Linked DNA regions of Homo sapiens: region 2 is linked to region 1. The links are contacts of gene promoters, found by promoter capture Hi-C in human tissues and cell types (Jung and others, 2019). All regions are on one chromosome and are shown on one strand. The core of a region is centred on a gene start or on the middle of the fragment in contact, and the rest is flanking DNA. Distances in the headings are between cores, read along the strand shown. Region 1 holds the start of PSG9 (pregnancy specific beta-1-glycoprotein 9). Region 2 has its middle 18 kb from the start of PSG11-AS1.

What was found. The method cuts DNA at HindIII sites, captures the fragments that hold promoters and counts their contacts. A contact is called where the count stands out against the background at its distance.
Region 2: a contact is called between a fragment that was not itself captured here and the fragment with the promoter of PSG9 in region 1, in 2 of the 25 tissues and cell types used here (H1 embryonic stem cells and pancreas).

What each region holds. Positions count from the first base shown.
Region 1 is chr19:43,266,776-43,272,878 of GRCh38, reverse strand. PSG9 (pregnancy specific beta-1-glycoprotein 9) reads left to right here and starts at 3,349. Exons shown (of 6, transcript NM_002784.5): 1 at 3,349-3,511; 2 at 4,730-5,095. The coding sequence starts at 3,448. The HindIII fragment of the contact is 8,927 bases long and covers 1-6,103 here.
Region 2 is chr19:43,133,471-43,139,636 of GRCh38, reverse strand. No RefSeq gene overlaps it. Among named protein-coding and RNA genes, the nearest start is that of PSG11-AS1, 18 kb to the left of the region's middle. The HindIII fragment of the contact is 7,180 bases long and covers 1-5,707 here.

The DNA of each region.
Region 1 (6,103 bases), core at 2,100-4,599:
GAAAACAATCCAAGTGCTCCTCAACACATCAATAAATAAATATGGTGACACATACAACAGAATGTTAATCTGCCATAAAGAGGAATGAAGCTCTGATACCCACTGGAACATGCATGGACTTTGGAAATATTATGCTAAGTGAAATATGTCAGAAACAAATTAACGTAAGTGTATAATTCCATTTATATTAGACATCAAGAATAGGCAAATTCATAGAGACAGAGTAGAGATGATCAAAGTCTAGGGTGGAACATACAAGGAGGTATTGTTTAAAAGATACAAAGTTTCAGTTTAAAATGATAAAAATTTTCTAGGGAAAATAGTGGTGATGGTAATTTAACACTGTGTATGTGGTTAATTTCACTTGATTGTGCATTTTAAAGTGGTTGAAATAGCACATTATTCACAGAACTGTGAAAAATAGATTTCTATTATATCGTTCACCCAAGCTAAGGTGTTTGTTATGGCAGCTGAAGCCCATGAATACATCATCTGACCCAGTGTGTCAATGAAACACATCAGTATTTCAATCAAATTAGCTGGAAGCTCCTGTCCCCAGGAGAATCAAAGGCCCCAAAACAAGAGCTCCAGCAAGGGCTCAACCAGCACAGGTCCCATAGGGCAGCCTCAATGTCAGGCCCTGGATGGCATGTGAGGCAACAGCAATACAACCACAACGTGAAAATGTAAGTATTTTTACTACTTCCAGACACTAGGGAGCACTCGGCACACCTGGAGACCACAGACACAGTGGTCAGTGACCCCATGCAGGGAGGAGAGAAGAGACCTGTAAGCGAATGGCTTTATTAAGTCCAGGGTGTTATCTGACAGGTTTCCAGCAGGGAGCTTTAATGGATGTGTTCAAAGCAAGCAGCAAACACTGGGACCAGGAGCTCACGCTGTGACTGAGAGGTAGTCACTTTAAATGTGAGGGCGAATGTCAGAATTATCAGTTTAAAGAAAGCAGCTTGAGAGAGGGGAGCCCAGCACACCAAGCAGGAGAGATGCCTCTAAGATTTTATCTCTGGACACCAACTGGAGCCACTTGAACCAGACACAGTATTGAAAACTACCATGGTGACCAAGCCCTGCCTCTGATTTGAGGCAAATAAACTTACACCTTAAAAAATGAATGCCAAGGCAACATGACACTATGAGCATCATGACATCCAGGGACACCAGCAGGGTGTGGTACTGTGCCCTGGAGTCAGAATCCTGGGTTCTGGTCCCTGGGAGTGAGAAAATGAAAATGACTTGTCCTTGCCCCCCTGACGTTGATCTTCCCACCCTGCTGCTCCCTCTTCTGCTCTCAAACCCATGTGCAGTGCTCAGCCCCAGGCATCACTGCCCCCAGGGTATTCACAGTGTTGCCTACTGCACACAAACACAAACTCACAGAAGGTGACAAAAATCTGCGTTTGGGACATCTGATTGTGAAAGAGGGATAACAGTGAACGTAGAGCCACAGAGACTGGGACTCACGGGGCTGGAAGGTGAAGGAGCTGTAACATAACATATGTGTGACCTCGTGTGAAGTGGAATAAAACATGCAGCCTGGCCTGGGATTGCTGCCGTTCACACTTCCCTCCCTGTCCACCAGAGGGCGACAGAGTCCCTCCCAGCCTGGAGCCTTCCCAGGGGATGCCAACCTCCCTCAGCGGAACCCACAGCCCAGCAGGGTCCACCCTCACCAGGGTCACTTCGGCCCAAGTCCTCAGCACCCTCCATGCTCCCCACACGGACTCTGTCAGTTCCTCCCTGACCTGGCGGCCGCCAACCTAACACCACTCCCTCTGCAGGGAGCTCCTGCCCCACACACCTGCTCCTTCCCTGGGCCCAGCTAAAGGCATCTCCCAGGGCAGCGCTGGTGCACGCGACGCCACACTGGGCGCTTTCCCCTCGTGAACTCTCTCCATCCTCATCAACTCTTTCTGTCACTGCTCCCTAAATGCCTGCCCCTGCTCCATCTGTCCTGTTCTCTGGGGCTTCCCAGGCCAAGCCTAGCGCCGACACAGAACAGCGGCTGCCTGAGGGCCCACAGCCTCCCCGGGAATCAGCCAGGCACCCTGTCACCTGCCTGCCCCCTGCACCCCAGGGGGCTCAGAGAGCGTGTGATGGTCATTCACAGGTACCATCCGGGATGTGGCCACCTACCCCCAGCTGTCCCTTGGGAAGACAGACCTCTCCTGTGTACTTGCGTGGAGAAGGGCGGTGTTATTGCTCTTTGCTCCCAGAACACAACTCACCCCCACCCGCCCTCTCAGGTGTGAGCAACGTCCCTCCAGAGAGCCTCTCTGGTCACTGCCTGTTCCTCCTCTACAGACAGCAGCTTGGCCAGGTCAAAACCCTCAGGACAGACCCCTGGGTGTGTCAGCACATGGAGGGCTGAGCCCATCATGGCCACGGAGTAAGTCGGGATGAATCTCTCCAGCTCTGAACCCCTGCTCTGTCCCAGGCTCCCCCTCCTGCGTCTCAATGAGCCATGTCCCGCGGGGTTCCTGGGTAACTCCCCACTTCCTCCTGCACCACCACGGGGAAGGTGTGGTGACCACAGGACAATCAGCTGGGCAGAGAAGAGAGGACATCAAAGATGGTCAGGGAGAACATGAGAAACCCTGAGCTCCAGCTCAGCCGCCAGACCCCAGGGAGCCATAGACTGACAGAGAACTGTCCCTTTGACTATGGGACTCACAGCCCCCACTGAGCAACCAGCACAGGCCTCTCCTCCTAAGAGGCATGAGAGATTCACCCTGCACACCTCCAGGAAGGACAGTTTCCTCTGGGACACCCAGGTCCTGAAAGTCCATCCTTGGAAGCTGCAGTCAAGCTTGACACGATTAGAGAAAGGAAGGGTCCCTCTCACCAGGCAACACACAGCTCACCCACAGCACAATGGGGTGTCACTGTGACAGGGACCTGGTGCATCTCCAGCCTCCTGCACTGAAGGGGAGAGCCAGATGGGGATGAAAGAGGGTAAAAGGCATGAATGTGCACCCCAACCCAGAGCCATGGGGACAGCAGGAGGCTGAGGCCCAGGACTGTGCTTGCCCAACCTGCAGGGTATGTGCCTGACTGTGTGGGTCTGTGTGTGTCTCTTCTGTGTGTGTGTGTGTGTGTGTGTGTGTGTGTGTGTGTCTGCACAAAGTGTGTGTTGAGGTTTGGTGAAAGAATCACTGCTGAAAAAGGCAGAGGCCTCCACAACTCCCAGGGACCTGAAACACAGACAAAAGGAAAAACAGAAGGAGGGACAAGGAGGCAGGACTGAGAGAGAAGGGGACAGAGAGGTGTCCTGGGACTGACCCCGCCCATGAGCTTGAGAAGTGCTCCTGCCCCGGGAAGAGGCTCAGCACAGAAGGAGGAAGGACAGCACAGCTGACAGCCGTGCTCAGACAGCTTCTGGATCCCAGGCTCATCTCCACAGAGGAGAACACACAGGCAGCAGAGACCATGGGGCCCCTCCCAGCCCCTTCCTGCACACAGCGCATCACCTGGAAGGGGCTCCTGCTCACAGGTGAGGAGAGAACTTCCTGGGAGAGGACAGGGGGAGGAAGCGGAGTGACTGGATGGGGTCTCCTGGAGAGGATGGGGTTGTAAAATAAAAGAAGCCAGCTCTTAGGGAGGCTGAGGTGGGTGGATCACGAGATCAGGAGTTCAAGATCAGTCCGGCCAATGCAGTGAAGCCCAGTCTCTCCTAAAAATATAAAAAATTAACCAGGTATGGTGGTGTACTCCTGTAATCCTAGCTACTCGGGAGGCTGAGGTGGGAGAATCATGTGAACCCGGGAGGCAGAAGTTGCAGCTAGCCGAGATACCGCCACTGCACGCCAGCCTGGGCGACAGTACGAGACTCCGTCTCAAAAAAAAAAGAAAAAAAGGAAAGAAGGCTCTGTTGCAGCCTGGATAGGGGAAAATACACCAGAGAGGGACAGGGGTCAAAAGAGGAAAGTCACATTGAACCGGAATTGGTAAGAGGTAGGAAAATCTTAAGTGTTCTGTTTTCCTGATTAATCATCCGGGGCCACCACATTTTGAAAAATGATAATAATAACTATATCAGATGACACTTCAAATAAAAATATAAGCAGGACATGAAACACTATCCTCAGCAAAAAACCTCAACAATTGGGGGAAAAAAAAACACCCAGGGCATGGAGGGCCCTGAGAACTCTCACATCTACAGGAGTCTGCAGCCTGTCCCAGGCACTGGGGTGCAACCAGGATCACAAAAGTCCCTGTCCTCACGGAGCTCACGCTGTCATGGGGAGGAAGACAGACATGCGAAGAGATGTAGAATGTGAGATCAGGTGTTGACAAGAACCCTGGAGGGAGCAGAGCAGGGAAAGGTCAGAAAGGGAAGACCCAGGGTCTCTGAAGGAGGTGTCAGGAAAGAAGTCTAAGGATGCCCTGATGTGAGCAGGACCTGAGGGCAGTGTGGAGGGGGCCGTGTGGACCCCTGGGGAAGAGGATTCCAAACAGAAAAATGCCAAGGTCAGAAGTGTTGAAGGAATGGGGGTCATGCTGCTGACCTTGACCTAGTAGGACAGTAGGACACACACACATACACATACACAAACACACATGCCCGTTTTTTGTGTGTGTTTGTTTGTATGTGTGCGTGTGTGTATCTTCAAGGCTGAGGATGGAAGAGACCTTCTCAGGACCCAGGGCCCCATCTTTTCACCACAATACATAGGTCTCAATATTAACTGATGCTGTCTCCCCCTCCTAGCATCACTTTTAAACTTCTGGAACCCGCCCACCACTGCCGAAGTCACGATTGAAGCCCAGCCACCCAAAGTTTCTGAGGGGAAGGATGTTCTTCTACTTGTCCACAATTTGCCCCAGAATCTTCCTGGCTACTTCTGGTACAAAGGGGAAATGACGGACCTCTACCATTACATTATATCGTATATAGTTGATGGTAAAATAATTATATATGGGCCTGCATACAGTGGAAGAGAAACAGTATATTCCAACGCATCCCTGCTGATCCAGAATGTCACCCGGAAGGATGCAGGAACCTACACCTTACACATCATAAAGCGAGGTGATGAGACTAGAGAAGAAATTCGACATTTCACCTTCACCTTATACTGTGAGTGATTCCACATGATCCCTGGGTGTTGGGGGGAAGGGGTCATTTCTACTTCACACACACAGGATTGTCAGGCCTGGACTCTGCCTGTGTCACTCTCTGCATTATGTCCCATGCTGGGGTTTGGGCATTTAGTGCAGGACACACACAGAGGAGACAAATTTCAACAGATCAGAATTCCTTTCCCGCATCCAGACCCTGCAGACACTCGCTGCAGAGGAAGGACAGTCTGATGGGGGGACTCAGCAGGAGGAGATCAGTCTCAGCCAAGCACATCATGCCCTCTTCATAAATTTGACCCTGAGAAAGACCCTGGAGAACTGAGTAGGGCTTGGCTTGAGGGGACCCCTGAGATACTCTCAGAGAAGCTCAGCCCTAGAAGCCTCAACCCCAGACCCCTGTCCCTAAATCCTTGCTCCAGTTAAGCTGAGGAGCCTGTGCCAGTGCTGGGTTGTGGCTTCTTGGGCAGGCCTTACTGGGACCAAGAATTTACCAGCTGTCTGAGGACTGTGTCTCCTGGAGCTGTTCACCAGCCAGGGCTCAGCCCTCAGAGTCTCATCTGGGCAAGGACAGAGCTTTTTCAGCTGACACTCAGAGTGGAGAGGACAGAAAGACAAGCTTTGTAGGACATCAGCCAACTGCCTTGGGAGGCTTAGGACAGTCCATAGAAAGTCTAATGTCCCCAGAAGCAGAAACAGAAGGGAGAAGATGTACCTGGTAGCAGCTTGTCCACAGGGATCTGACATAAGGTGCTTTCTCATGGAAGCAAATTAATAATAAATGCTGCTTGTGTGAAACCTCCACTGTGCCAAGCATTAGGTCAGGTGACTGTGAATCATTTAACATTTATTCACAGATAGCATGAAAAGCCACAGTCCATTTGCCATTTAGTTTATTTGATTGAGAGAAAACTGAGGCACAGGAAGGTGCAGTCACTGAACCAGAGTCACACAAACACAAAGGGGAGATCAGGGTCACATGAGGTCTGTCTGCAGCCACAGGCCTATC
Region 2 (6,166 bases), core at 868-3,367, 130 kb after region 1:
AAACCCATATGTATCTTATAAAAAGTTATAGTCTATTTTGTTCCAATTCAATAAAAATCATTGATATTAATTAAGCAACTTCTATATACAAGGTGAGTAGTTTTCAACTGTGAGTCTGTTTTGTCTTAAGGAAGTTAATATCCCTTAATCCAAACTTTCAAAATAGTATTCAAGGAACAGGAATGTTATTCTTAAGTTGAAAATACTTTGCCCATACACATAATCTAGTTGGATCCATAAAGAGATTGTGGTATTTTGATACCTAATAATTTCTTTATTAAAAAAGAATTTATCCCCTAATAAAATTAAAAATAACTCTCTATGAAGATAGAGAACTAGACCTGCTGATGTTAAAAATGAAAAACTCAGTTGGATATTGCAGGTTTTCATGAGCAGCAGAGTGTCAGAGCTTTGGACATGAGTTGTTTCATTTTGCATTTCATAGCCCTGTGTCCAGAAACTTCATTTTGAAGTTTAGACAAAGTGGGGAGCAGAGGGCAGTATGGGCCAGTCCTGTGAATTTTGCAGTTCTGCATAGGTAGATTATTAGATAGATACACAATAGATAGATCATAGATGGATAATTATGATGATGATGAAGATAGATACATACATATATACATACATACATAGATGCATGGATGGACAGATTTGTTTTTTGTAAAAATTAAAATTATAAGAAACACCCACAAGACTCTACAATAATAATTAGAACTAAATCTCTCAGAGATGTATGTCTTGACATTCTGGGGCCAGAAATGACATTTTTCTTCTTTTTAAAATACCTTTCCTAGAAAGAGTTGCATGATGAATACTTCTTGAGGATACTGTTGAAAAAAATCTCCACATAGAAGTTTGAACTTTTCATGTAAAAAAAAGTGCATGTGTGAATCCAGAAAGCACATTTGTGTTACTCAGTATCACCACTTATATCAGTTGGGATGGTTCAATTTCAAGTTACATAATACCTGAGTCAGATTGGCTGAATCAACATGGACATGACTTTCTCAAGTTAAGGAAAGGTCCAAGGTAGGGCTGGTGCCCTGCTTTGTCTTGTCCCATCCATACCCTTTATTCCAAATCTCTCTCTTCTACCCTACCCTAACCCATAGCCAGCAAACTGTAATATGCCCTCAAATGTTTCTTAAAATATTCTTCTCAACTTCTGTCCTTAATTAAAACTAAGTTGTCCTCTGAGGACCCTGACTCTGTTTCTATCTGTCATCGCTTAGGGCTTGGTTGGGTCACAGACATGACTGCTGCTTCAGGACCATCTCCCTTCCTTTCACCTTGAAAAGTCCTGTCTCTTGACAAGTCATGCTATTCTGCTCTATTGGCATTTACCCATCTCTCTTTGCTGTCTTCTATCAATCTGCTGGTCACACCCCAGTATGTATTGACAATTGAAGCTCTGGGGTTCGCATGATACTTTCCACCTCACTCTTAGCAGTACATTGGCTTGGTTCAGCATCCATGTTGATGCCCTCCCTCCACTCCAGTTGTTCTTCCCTGAACTTTGTCATCACCACTTTTGGCACCCCCTTTAAAATCCCAATGTACCAATTCTCTCCAACCCCTAGACCATAATAAGCTCTAGGGAGCCAGGAACTATATGTTCCTTACATTCACCCACTCCACACCCCACACTCAGCCTCTGCCACATAGGACATGCTCAACAGATATTTGTTGAACAAATTAATGCCAAAATCAATTTTCCTGTCTTTTACAAATTCATTATTAAATGAAAACTTTAGACTTATTCTCAAGTTTCAGACAGAAAGTCTCTTTTTGGAGGTTGAGAAGGTATTTATTGTTAATTAAGGCATAATTTACATTAATAAAAATGCATAACCGTATTCGTCAAGGTTCTCTAGAGTGACAGAAGTAGTAGGATAGATGTATATACAAAGGGGAGTTTGTTAAGGAGCACTGACTCACGTGATCACAAGGTGAGGTCCCACAATAGGCCATCTGCAAGCTGAGGATCCAGGAAGTCAGTCCAAGTCCCAAAGCCTCAAAAGTAAGGAAGCCGACAGTGCAGCCTTCAGTCTGTGTTCAAAGGTCCGAGTCCCAGAGTTGAAGAACTTGGAGTCTGATTTTCGAGGGCAGGAAGCATCCAGCTGGGAGAAAGATGTAGGCCAGAAGACAAAACCAGTCTAGTCCTTTCCCGTTCCTCTGCCTGCTTTTATCCTACCACGCTGGCAGCTGATTAGATGGTGCACACCCAAATTGAGGAAGGGGCTGCCTCTCCCAGTCTACTGACTCAAATATTAATCTTCTTTGACAGTACCCTCATAGACACACCCAGGAGCAATACTTATATCATTTCAATCCAATCAAGTTGACACTCAATATTAACCATCACAATAACTTTTTGTGGTTTTTTAAAATTCTATTTTGAGTTGTAGGATCCTTTATATATTCTGATGAGTTTACACAAATATATTCACCTGTGAAAACATCAGCCTAATAAAGATAAAGAATATTTCCATCACTCCAGAAAATTTCCTCATATCACCAAACCCCAAAACTTCAGGCAACTGCTGTTCTTATTACCATGGCTTTCATGTTGCCTCTACTAGAACTTTATATAAATGGAATCATGCAACATATTCTATTTGGTATCTGGCCTATTTAACAACATACTATTTCTGAGATTTATATATGTTTCCATTGCAGGTAACAATAGTTATTCCTTTTTTTATCTGTTAGTAGTATGTCGTTATATGAATATGTAACAGTAAGTTTATCCATTTATCCTTTGGTAAGCATTTGGGTTCTGCTCCATTTGAAGTTATCATGAATAATGCTACAATGAATATCTGTGTACAGGTCTTTGTGTGGATGAATATATGTTTTCATAACTTTTTGGTATATATCTATAAATGGAATTGTTGAGCCATAGGGTAGTTATTAAAAGTAGTTGCACCATTTTATATTCTCACCTCAATACATGAGCATTCCAATTGCTCCACATCCTCATCAAAACTTAGTATTGTCAGTCGTTTTAACTGTAGCCATTCTAATGGGTAGGAGTATCTCATGGTTTCACTTTTTATTTCCTTGATAACTAATAATATCGAGCAACTTTTCCTGTGATTGCTAGCTATTTGCATTTCCTTTTTTGGGAGATTTTTGTCCAAATAATTTGCTCATTTTCTATTTTTTTTTTTTTTGCGTGTGTTTTTGTTTTATTTTTGTCTTTTTATGTTGAGTTTTAGAATTCCTTTACATATTCTGAACACAAATACTTGGTTTCAAAGTCAGTGAATTGCCTTTTCATCTATCTTGAAGAGCAGATGTATTTTTGATGAAGCACAATTTATGATTTTTTAATGTTTAGTGCCAGGTATTTGTAGAAGGAGTCTTTGTCTACCTTTGCTTTATTGTAAAAGCTTCAAAATTTTAGATTTTATGTTCAGGTCAAATCTCAGTTGATCTTAATTTAATGCTTGTGCAGAGTATGGAGTAAGGGATCAAAGTTCATTTTTATCCATATAGGTATCCAGTTTTTCCAATTCCATGTGTTGAAAAAGACTATTCTTTTCCCATTGACTTGCATTATCAACTTTGTTTAAAATGAATGGACTGCGTAAGTGGCAGGAAGTTTTGTTTTGTTTTTTTTTTAAATATAATTGAGCCTTTAAAAAGGCCAATCTTTGTTAAAAGTTAAACAAAAGTTAAAAGTGATGATGACAAAGTCCTAACTGGCTGTCCTTGTGGCTTCAAAGCAGATGATGGAACAGTGGAGCGAGTTTAGCATGGAAGGGTGAAGGAAGCTTTAGGGACATTCATCATTACATCTCAGGGGAAAGCTGAGACTTTCTTTATACCCGGAGATATATGTCAGCCAATTCTGTTCAGGTTGCATAGCCTCTGATGCCAGTTTCTGAGCGTTACCTATTACATCTGTCAGAGACATTTGAACAAGAGCAACTCCATCTTGAATAAAGGCTGGGTAAAATGAGGCTGAGACCTACTGGGCTGCATTCCCAGACACTTAAGGCATTCTAAGTCACAGGATGAGACAGGAGGTCGGCACAAGATACAGGTCATGAAGACCTTGCTGATAAAACAGGTTGCACAGAAGCCAGTGGAACTCCACCAAAACCAAGAAGACAACGGGAGTGACCTCTAGTCATCCTCACTACTACCTTCCCACCAGAGCCATGACAGTTTACAAATGCCATGGCAACATCAGGAAGTTACCATATATGGACTAAAAGGGGGAGGTATGAATAATCCACCCCTTGTTTAGCATATCGTCAAGAAATAACCATAAAAATGGGCAAGCAGCAGCCCTCACGGCTGCTCTGTCTATGGAGTAGCCATTCTTTTATTCCTTTACTTTCTTCATAAACTTGCTTTCACTTTATGGACTCGACCTGAATTCTTTCTTGGTGAGATCCAAGAACCCTCTCTTGGGGTCTGTATCCAGACCCCTTTCCTATAACACATCCACACTAATTATTTTATTTTTGGCAAAATAATGTTAGAGCCAGTAACGTCTGAGAGGCCAACGTTCCATGGCCTCTCGCATATGAGGAAGGGCCGTTTACAGAGGGACTAAATGAGTCACCCAGTGTCACCTTGTCAGTGTGTGCCAGAGCAGAACTGTGCCCAAGTTAGAGAGTGGCCTCCCCTCTACTCAAGCATGTTCCAGAATGTGTGTTTTGCATACTGTTTGTCCCACAAGATGGCCTGAGCAGGGGCTGTGCAGGTCTGGGATGTGGGGTGCTATGCTATTCTCCTGGAAATACTCTAAGCTTTTCAGCATGGTTAAGGATTTGAGAAGTGTCCAACACAGAACACTGTTTGATTTTGTTTAACTCAGCTTCCCCAATCTCATTTCATCACGGAAGCCTTTTATCAAGTAGCTTGTATTAACTTGCTTCAAAACATTCCCCAAGAGATGTGGATCTAGCACACTATGGGGCAGGTCATGTTAGTTTTCTCTTGTCGTTATTCTTGTTATCTGGATGGCAAACATTTACATGGGCTATCAATACTAGGTTGTGTTGGCCGCCATGAATCTAAAACCCCTGGTAGGTTTTGGTATTTCCTAAAGATGATTTACTTAGACTCCTATAGCAGAGTAAAATGAGAAGGAAAGATAGAAATAGCCAGTGTTTTGGTGAGGACTGACATAATGATTTTTTAAAAATGCACCTGATTCTGCATTCTGAATCCTCCAGCCTCCTCAGCATGGGGATGGAGAACTGGAATGGGGCAAGACACACACATGCACATGCACACACACACAAGCAGACACACACCCACAGAAATAGTCCTCTGAGGATTCATTTAAGATTGGCTTAGAAGAGCTTTAGAAAAAAAATGTGAACCTTTCTGAAACTCTCAATGCCTCATAATTAATCTTTGTTGAAATAACATTTTCAAGACCCTTTTTAGGAGCCTGCTCCCAGTCTCCATCATTCCTCCAGCCAATGAGTGCTGGTTAAAGTGAATGAGATCAAATTGCCAGTTAAGAATCTAAATGAAGGCTATTGATTTACTCCATTGCAATGAACAGGTTATCCCCAGAAGGTGGACTCTGAAATGCTTCATTGAATTCCACAAATAAATAAGGGAATTTCTCCCCACCACTGTAATCCCTCAAGTGCCAGTGTCTGCAGGGATATTTTCTTTTACAGCATACTAAATGAAAATCTATCAGGAGATTGAAATTGGCACTAATAAGTGAGCATTTCTCACCTCTATCACCTTGGGCTTGGGGAATGCCCTTGATACGTTCGATTCCTCCCCTTACATGGGGTTTGCGTGGGAAGTCTCTATTACTTAAATTGTATCTTTTCCATATGTCATTATTTAAGTGACCACTTTCCTCAAAATAAAGACTGAGAACCACCATTAGAAGTATGCTGTTATGAGCTGAGTTGAGGCCCCCTCTCCCATACCATACACTGAAGTGCTAGCCCCCAAGACCTCAGAATGTGACTGTATTTGTAGGTAGGGCCTTTAAAGAAGTGATTAAGGCAAAGGAGTCCAATCTTTTGGCTTCCCTGGGCCACAATGGAAGAAGAAGAATTGTTGTGGGCCAAACATAAAATACACTAACAATAGCTGATGAGCGAAAAAACAGGTCCGTGTATAAATCTCATGTTTTAAAAAAGTATGAATTTGTGTTGGGCAACATTCAAAGCTG